Regions from separate parts of the Homo sapiens genome. Here regions 2 and 3 are each linked to region 1. The links are contacts of gene promoters, found by promoter capture Hi-C in blood cells and fetal thymus (Javierre and others, 2016). All regions are on one chromosome and are shown on one strand. The core of a region is centred on a gene start or on the middle of the fragment in contact, and the rest is flanking DNA. Distances in the headings are between cores, read along the strand shown.

What was found. Contacts are between HindIII fragments. The CHiCAGO score rates a contact against its expected background, and 5 or more counts as called.
Region 2: a fragment that was not itself captured here is called in contact with the fragment with the promoter of XRN1 in region 1 in 1 of 17 cell types (naive CD8 T cells); the score reaches 6.2 in naive CD8 T cells.
Region 3: a contact is called between a fragment that was not itself captured here and the fragment with the promoter of XRN1 in region 1, in 1 of 17 cell types (fetal thymus). The highest score is 7.3, in fetal thymus.

What each region holds. Positions count from the first base shown.
Region 1 is chr3:142,446,755-142,450,004 of GRCh38, forward strand. XRN1 (5'-3' exoribonuclease 1) reads right to left here and starts at 1,283. Exons shown (of 41, transcript NM_001282857.2): 1 at 1,116-1,283. The coding sequence starts at 1,190. ATR (ATR checkpoint kinase) reads right to left here. Exons shown (of 47, transcript NM_001184.4): 47 at 2,481-2,848. The coding sequence ends at 2,675. RefSeq lists an enhancer at 1,001-1,280. The HindIII fragment of the contact is 7,800 bases long and covers 224-3,250 here.
Region 2 is chr3:143,030,978-143,033,883 of GRCh38, forward strand. It overlaps U2SURP (U2 snRNP associated SURP domain containing), which reads left to right. Exons shown (of 28, transcript NM_001080415.2): 17 at 1,807-1,969; 18 at 2,294-2,373. Among named protein-coding and RNA genes, the nearest start is that of U2SURP, 31 kb to the left of the region's middle. The HindIII fragment of the contact is 4,237 bases long and covers 1-2,906 here.
Region 3 is chr3:141,497,403-141,500,630 of GRCh38, forward strand. The region is part of intron 1 of RASA2 (RAS p21 protein activator 2); the gene reads left to right. Among named protein-coding and RNA genes, the nearest start is that of RASA2, 12 kb to the left of the region's middle. The HindIII fragment of the contact is 278 bases long and covers 1,435-1,712 here.

The DNA.
Region 1 (3,250 bases), core at 33-2,532:
AACCTAACTCAATCTATGTTTCAAATAAATTCAAGATAAGCTAACCTTGGAAACTTTTTGTAGTCTATTTCTCATCTACCAAATCTGATTGGAATCCAGCAACAAAAACTCCTTTCCAGAAGTAAACTACCTTCATGTTCGTAAATGCCGATTAAACCATAATTTAATAGGCTATTTACAATACTACCCATCACAACTGATTCAATCAGCTACACAAATTTCAAGCTTTTTTTCTGTAAAGCATCAGAAAAGAGATCAAATTCATTAAATGTGACAAACACCAAAGTATCACCCAAAGTCTAGTTTACCTAATAGACGACTGCTTTCTCCTCTCTTTCCACAGTTCCAATATATAAACTACGTTTTCGGAATCTACACATTAACGTTGTCCTGGGGTCAGTACATGCCAAATATTATTAGTAGTATTAATGTTCTATCAATTCGTTTCCCAACCCCCTCTGTCACACAGTGAGGCCTCCAAATAAAAGGTCCTACGCCCCACTCCCCAGCTGGCCCAAGAGTTTTTTGTTTTGGCAACAGGGGATTGGTGCTGCTTTTGAAATAACAGAAAGTAACAAAAGGCATCACCAATATGACCATCAGCCACGTCGGAAAGTCTAGGCTCCGGGGGCCGGGTGGGCCGCGCTCTAGATCAGGGAAAGTAAACAAGGTGACTGCGTGCGGAAGCGGCTGTTATCGTCTGTAAGTGGGTCTGCCGCTCTGGGTGGGATGGGGGAACCTACGAGGACACCCACTCCAGCTTCGCAGCCTCTGTAAGGAAAAAGGCAACTTGCAGCTCCCCGGGAGGAAACCGGAGAACAGTAAAAGCGTTCTTTCCCAGGACTTCATTTCGGAGTCGCGGAAGGACCAGCAGAAGCAAGAGCTGTCAGAGAAGCCGTGAACCCAGCGGCTCTGTCCACACACAGGCAACCTGCGTCCTTAGCCCCTTTCGGCTCATCCGGGCGTCCTCAAACCTTCCGTCCCCCTCCCTAATGCCACTAATCGTCCAGACGACGAGGGGAAAGAGGTGGCTCGAAAGCCCCAGCTCTAAGGTGGAGAGGGCCGCGGAGCCCCGGGTCCTCGGCTTTCTGAGCCGTTGCCCCTCGCTCACCCACCTGATGCTCTTTCACCACTTCGCTGAGACAGGGATACCGCTCTGAGATCCATCTGTAAAACTTGGGGACTCCCATTTCGATCGTCAACACTAATCCCAGTCAGGGCCAAACCGAAACCAAACGCCCCGCCGGGGCTCCGCCGCAGCCTCCGGTCGTCGCTCCGCGGATGACAACACACCGCCCGGCCGACCATAGAGAGCGCCCGGCGGGCCTAGAGCGGCAGGATCCGAGGCCGTCCGAGGGGCGGGGCTTAGCCCTCCGGGCCTCGCGCGGCCGGGGCCGCGGTACTGTCCAGTGGCGGTCAGGGAATCTGCGGAGGTTTGCTGGTGTGTTGCAACTTAGGGGCGAAAATGCCCCATGATAGAGTTGTGCTTTCTAAGTGGATTTGGAAGTGGCATGAAAACCGTACGAAGGTGTGGGAAGGGTATCGAACACTGATTTTTGTTCCGCTTGTCTCCTAGGGTTGCTAATCTCAGTATTTTTCATTCAGATTTCGAAAGATCTGGTGATTTACTTGGCTTAGTTTGTTGTTTTGTCAATAATTTTTTTTCTCTGAGGAATTTAAACTTACGTTTCTTAATACATACGTTTAAAAACGTTCTTTTCCAAATTGTTCAAAAAAATTTCCCATGTACCCGCCCCCCGCAACTGTTAACATAAGACCTTGGATACGAAATCATTTAATGTTTAGTTTTGACATTCTTGCATCCGGGTTTATCATATTTTTCCCCATCACACTTTCAACCGCACAGCAAAGGAGAGTTCTATCAACTTAAGTGAAATTATCAGTTTTAAATGTAAGAGTTTTCCACTTATTTGAATGTATTAACCCGTTACTTTGTATTTAAGTCTTCTGGATGAAAACTTACAGAAAAACCTTAAACATTTAATACTTTTTGGATTTTAAGATCTCAGGAAATGTTAAGTATCGCTGTCTTTCATGACCACTGGATTCTGCATTCTGGGACTGCAGTATGGCAGCATCACACAAATTACAGAATGTTTATTTCGTTTTCACATTCACGCTTCTTGGCTTATATTTTTTCCCTATCACACTTTAAAACAAAGTTTTATTAAGTGAACTTAATGATATGCTATTTATATTTATATATCTCTCTTACTAGACTGTCACTTCCTGGAGGGCAGGAGAGGGTAGCTCTATGCACAAGTCTGGCACAACGCCTTGCCCACAGTATTTATTCCATATAATTTTGTTCTTCAAGTGAATCCTTACAATAGCTAGGACTTTTAAAAGGAAATCAATAGAAGTTGTAAAATGAAATTAGACTTGCTTGTTTCTTGCAAATATAGTTTTTGACCATAAGAACACATGATATTCTATTTCTCCAATTATAATGCACAGTATGTATTAAGAAAGCAGTTTATTTCTTAATAACTGAATGTATATTATTTTACATATAATTAATGATCAGAGAGAAATAACAGTTGCTGAGAACGTAAATTTATGTTGTACTTTAGAATTGAACAGATACAACCACAGATTCATACCAAATGCATTACTTTTAGATTATTAACATATTCTTTTACATAATTTCATTTCACATATATGGAGTCCAACCAAGATACATCTGGCATAGTAAGTTTTCATCAGTAGCTTCCTGTATAAGGTAATGCACATGTCCTTCAATAGATAACGGCAGTCCTGTCACTCTATTTCGAGTCTTGATTACACCTTGTAGTCGCTGCTCAATGTCAAGAACATGGGTCTTGGCCTAAAAAGAAGAAACATAAAACCAAAAACAGATGTTAATAATTTGGAATTACTACCTTTCTTTATATTTTGACATTTAATAAATGTTAATACCATTTTACTGACCAATACCCCTTTTGTAAGAGCAAATACAGGAAAAGAAGAAATTAAACAAATACAGTTAGCTTGTGATACTGATTTGGAGGCTCGCAAGATTGATTCAACATCAACTGCTTGGACATGTTTCTGGACTACGTGAAATACCAGGGAATTATTTACACATTACAATTCTAGAAAAATAATTTTTTAAATCTGCTTTGGAAGTGTTTAGGACTTAAACATTTCAATGAATATTCAAATAACAATGCTGTACTGCCTAATATTTACATTATGTTAGTACATGCAAATGGGTGTTCTAAGTGAG
Region 2 (2,906 bases), core at 135-2,634, 580 kb after region 1:
TAGATGACTTTGAGGGATTTAAGACTTCAGTAGAGGAAGTAACTCCAGATATGGTAGAAATAGCAAGGGAACTAGAATTAGAAGTAGAGCTCAAAGATGGGACTGAATTGCTGTGATCTCATGATAAAACTTTAATAAATGAGGAGTTGCTTCTTAGGGATGAGCAAATTAAGTGGTTTCTTGAGATGGAATGTATTTCTGATGAAGAAGCTGTGAACATTGTTGAAATGAAAGGATCTAGAATATATATAAAGTTAGTTGATAAAGTAGTACAGGGTTTGAGAGGATTGACTACAGTTTGGCAAGACATTCTCCTCTGGGTAAAATGTTAACAAACAACAACTCATGCTGCAGAGAAATCCCCTGTGATGAGAAATGTCAGTTGATGCGGTAAACTTTATTGTTTAAGAAATTGCTGCAGCCACCCCAACCTTCAGCTACCACCGCCCTAACCTTCAGCTACCACCACCCTAACCTTCAGCTACCACCACCCTGATCAGTTGGCCATCAACATTGAGGCAAAACCTTCCACCAGCAAAAATGCTATGACTCACTGAGAGTTCAGATGATTGTTAGCATTTTTAACAAGAAAGTATTTTTAAAGTAATGTGTACATTGTTTTTTTAGACATACTGCTATTGCATACTTAATAGACTACAATATGGTATAAACATAACTTTTACATGCACTGGGAAATCAAAAAACTTATGTGATTGGCTATATTGTGATATTTGCTTTATTGCAGTAGTCTGTAACTGAATCCGTCTCTTTGAGATATGCCTGTATGTACTTCACTGCAGTCTATAAATCTTAATACTTGTTGCATTGATTCATTGCCTATGAGAGCATTTGGCAATGGAGTGTGATACTGTTTGAGTGTATTTACTTCTGAAGATGTATGTTCATAATCACTGTAATCCTAGGATCTGCAAACTCAGCTCATAGGCTAAATATGGCTGCCTCCTGTTTTGGAAAATAAAGTTTTACTGGAATACAGTCAATTCCCTTCCCTACATGTTGTCTGGCTGCTTTGGTGCTATGCCAGCAGGGGGATAGAGATCATATGGCCTGCAAAGCCTAAAATATTTGTAATCTTTTTTTTTTTTTTCCCCTGAGATGGAGTGTTGCTGTGTCACCCAGGCTGGCATGCAGTGGCACGATCTTGGCTCACTGCAACCTCTGCCTCCCAGGTTCAAGCAATTCTTCTGCCTCAGCCTCCCGAGTAGCTGGCATTATAGGTGCCTGCCACTGCACTTGGCTAATTTTTATATTTTTAGTACAGACAGGGTTTCACCATGTTGGCCAGGATGGTCTTGATCTCTTGACCTTGTGATCCGCCTACCTTGGCCTCCCAGAGTGCTGGGATTACAGGCATGAGCCACCGCACCCAGCCAGTCTTTTCCTTTACAGAAAAAATTAGCCTGTCGTAATCCCAGGCAGAAGTGTTAAAGTAATAGACTTCCTTCAAAGAAGGGGAGTAAAGAACATGAAAGTTCTTCAGTATCATGGGATGGTAAGACTGGGGTGCTCTTAAAGACGCTTGAAGAAATGCGTATGATTTTAAATTTACTTAATTTGTAAGCTGAAAACATAATTGGAATCTTATTCTACAGAGTATTCTTATATAAATTCTTCAAAAAATTGTAACAATTTTGGGGGACACAACACAAATCAGACTGAATGTATTACAGTCTTCAGAATTATTTTATGTGAGTAGGTTTTAAAGAAATTAGTTTGTGAGCAAAAGCTACAATGGCATTTGAAATTGTATCTAAATATTTATAAGTTAAAACAATTTATGTTCAGACAGAGGGATAAATTGGAAGAAATCTTGCGGGGATTAACTCCAAGGAAAAATGATATTGGAGATGCAATGGTTTTCTGTCTTAATAATGCTGAAGCTGCTGAAGAAATAGTGGATTGCATTACTGAGTCGTTGTCCATCTTAAAGACACCCCTTCCTAAAAAGGTATGGGAATGAATTTTAAGAAAAGGGGAGATAGTTGACGTCTTTTGGGATTAGAATTGGTTTCCTTTTTGCACAAAGCACTTGACTGATGAGATTTTTCCCATGCAGTCTTATGTTATTTCTGCTTGGAAATTTAGGTTCATTAACATACAAGTTAACAAACAAGTTGAAATGTAAATGGGTTAACAAATTTCATCTCTGCCAGAGTCATAGTTGTGGTGATACTGAGCTTCATATAACTCTTCTAATTAGTAGCCATAATTAAATTATAGCTAAACATTAGCCTTATATTAACCTATTTTGTGTTATCTTTTGATATTATAGATTGCCAGATTATATTTGGTTTCTGATGTTTTGTACAACTCTTCAGCCAAAGTTGCTAATGCTTCATATTATAGAAAATTGTAAGTATAATGATATAACTGATATTCCTGAAATAAAGTATTTAAGGGTAAGGAGTTCAGAAAAGAGGATTGTTTTGTTAACATCCTGCAAGAATAAGAAGTACAGTCAGCCCTCCATGTCTGTGGGTTCCTTATCCATGAATTCAACCAACCATGAATTGAAAATATTTGAGAAGAAAAATTGTATCTGTACCGAACCTGTACAGACTTTTTTCCTTGTCATTTTCTAAACAATATAGTATGAAAACTCTACATAGCATTTACATTGTATTAGGTATTGTAAGTAACCTAGAGATGATTTAACAGATGGGAGGATGAGGATAGGTTACAGGTGAATATTATGCCATTTTCAATCAGGAACTTGAGCATCTGTGGATTTTGGTGTCCATGGGAGGTCTTGGAACCAGTCCCCCCATGGATACTGAGGGAAGACTAATTTGAATTTCTTAATGGTTTGTAGAATTTTTTAAAAAATTGGCTTACACTTAAGCTAAATTACCAATTTTTTGGAAAGATTTTATATCATATCACTT
Region 3 (3,228 bases), core at 324-2,823, 950 kb before region 1:
AAAGTAACTATTTATATAAATGAACTTGATACAGTATTAATCTTAAGCTGTGCCAGTCTCTGTTGCTCTACTTTGGAAGACTATCCTATCTGCAAAACAAGAGTAATCAAATGTTAGGTTTTGTAACATTTTGAGTGCTATAGAAGAAATAAAGTCAACTTTTCTGTTAAGTTTTTTTGGTAACTTTTGATATAATTTCAAACTTACAAATTGTAAGAATAGGCTGAGGAGGGTGGATGGCTTGAGCTCAGGAGTTTGAGACCAGCCTGGGCCACATGGCAAAACTCCGTTTCTACAAACGAAAAAAAAAAAAAAATGCCAGGCATAGTGGTGTGTGTCTTCAGCCCTAGCTATTAATACTTGGAATGCTGAGGCCAGAGAATCACTTGAGCCCAGGAGGTTGAGGCTGCGGTGAGCTGAGGTCGCACCACTGCACTCCAGCCTGGGTGACAAAGTGAGACCCTGTCTCAAAAAAAAAAAAAAAGTAGAAATAATACAGCAAATTCTTATATACTTTGCCTGTTTGACTAATTGTTTATGTTAGAAAAACTTTTTAAAATTTTAATACATTGTTTCAGAGAAATGTGGTAAAAAGGGTCTGAAAATTTTGGATCCTTTAAAATATGACATTTGTGTGAGTGGTACAGAATTTTAGTTTTGAATTTTACAGTTTTATATAAAATATTCTTGGTAGATGGGGTGAACTAATGTTTATTGAGTATTTCCTGGTTTCCAGATGTTGTGTTAGGATACTTTGCAAAATATTTCATGTAATCCAATTTCATGAAGAAGATTGTTATTCCTATTTTAGAGAAGAAGCAACAGACAGAGGTTATTTGCTCAGGATTGTAAGGGAGCAGAGCCAAGTTTTCAGAAAGTCTTTATGTTACCAAAGCCCACATCCCTTTCTCTACAAAGCTGCCTGTGAGATGATATATTGGAAGGAATTGATGAATACATTTATGTTGTCAAGAAGTTGATAATTACTCCTAAATTGGCTATGGTCTAATGTAGTGGATATTCAATAAAATTATGATGTTTGAATGCCATAAGAATTTATCTTCTGGCCTGTTTTGGGGGTTCATGAATGTAATTATTTTAGCTGCCTAACTGCTTATGTGGGTTTGTATGTACTTTTGAGTGGTTCTTGGATATGTGTACACACATACATACACACACACAGATATACACATACACACCTTTATATGCTCATGGGTGTAACTTCTTTATGTGTCTAGGTGTCTTTTTTTTGTGGAGGGGGGGCGAAGATCAATATGAATCCTATTTTGGCCCCCTGGATGCTGTCACCAGAAATAACAGCCATATCCCATATATAGCCTGTCCATGTAGCCCTGAGTTCTGCCAGCACCTGGCTTTTTGCCTTCCTTTTGTTTGTCATACCAGGCTCTCTTGGTCACCTTGGTAGCCTTGCTAAGCTTCTTGTAGCTATAGGTACCATTGGCTTAGCCCAGAAGAGATTCCTGCCATATGTACTTCAGAGTTTGGTTTGCCACTTGAGGAAGGGGTCTGTAGGGAGCTTGTAGATCAGCACACATTCAAAACTGAAACCGGAAGTGGGCAAGGCAAACCACAGGAAGATCCTGCCCGCAACTTGGTGACGTATCTATATAACCCATAGACACTTCCTGGCAATACCTTGTGAAACTTGCCTTTTCGTGTATAGTAGTTTCCTAACTTCTTGTTCTAGATTAAGCTTCAGTGAAAAGTGATTAATATGATAGCAGTGTAGATAACTGTATGATAGTTATTGTGCACATGACTTCCATGCAGCAACTAGCCCCGATTATGTTCTGTAGACTTTATCACTGAGGAGTTGCAGTGGTATTTATGCGTTTACTTTGACTTTGTCTTGTCACTAGCCATTGTCTTACTTATGTGTAATTGTACTTATATATAGTTCAGGTTTTATACCCACAAAAACCCTTGTGATATAATACCACTATACAGGATTGCCTTATTTATGTGGAATTGTACTTATATATAGTTCAGGTTTTATAGCCACACACACACACACGAAAAAACAGTTCTTTGCTTCACTGAGTCTCGGCTAGCCACCCAAACTGTGTCATATTCCTAGAGTCCTGTGCCCACTCAAGTGTTTGCTCACTGGTACTACCTCATTTTATCATAGTGCCTTGTTCTTAGGCAGAACCAGATTTCTGGTAGGAGTTATTTAATGTGTTGATTTTTTTTTTGAGACGGAGTCTCCCTCTGTCACCAGGCTGGAGTGCAGTGGTGCGATCTCAGCTCACTGCAACCTCCACCTCCCAGGTTCGACAATTCTCCTGCCTCAGCCTCCCGATTAGCTGGGACTGCAGGTGCACGCCACCACATCCAGCTAATTTTTGTGTTTTTAGTAGAGGCGGCATTTCGCCATGTTAGCCAGGATGGTCTCGATCTCCTGACCCGCCCACCTCGGCCTCCCAAAGTGCTGGGATTACAGGCATGAGCCACCGTGCCTGGCCAATGTGTTGTTTTTTTAAAGATTACCAATCGAGTGGGATTATAGACTCTTGGATTATTTTACAGATACAAGTCATTTGCCAGGAGTGAGGAAAATTGCTTGACAACTGAGTTATCTCACCATGTTAATTTATGCATTGGAAAACTCTGCTTAGTGGTAGATATTCCAGCAGTCACCATATGCCTATTGGTACTATTTCTCATTCTCTGTCTGATTAATGTCACAAATGTGTAACTTTCCAGTGGTGTTTTCAAGATGACAGTTAAGGAGCCACTAAGGAAGGAAATAACAGCTACATAACTTTTTTCTTTTCAGTAGTTCTTGACAGTCCCCCCTCCTTTTTTTGTTTTTGTTTCTTCATACCCTGCAGCAATCTGATGTACTCTGAAGGGGGTAAATTTGAGACTCTTTGGAAGGTCATGTGTGATAAAGACAGTTCTTCTCTTCCTTTCTCCATTCAGAACTGTTAAAGATAAATCAATGGGAGTGTTTTTTTCTTGTGTAAGATTTATTATATACAAAATATTTTTTAAGTGTGTGAAAACTGATTAAATGATAAAGGCTAAGGTAGCATGTTTAAAGCATGGTTTTCTGCTACTTTTCTACTAATCACTTAACCTCTCTGAGCCTCAGCTTCCTTGTCTACAAATTAGGAATAGTAGTTTTACTAATCATATAGCATAGTTGTGAAAAGGTTAAATGACTCGGTATACTGCCTGGCATTTTGTGCTCAGTTAAGTGTT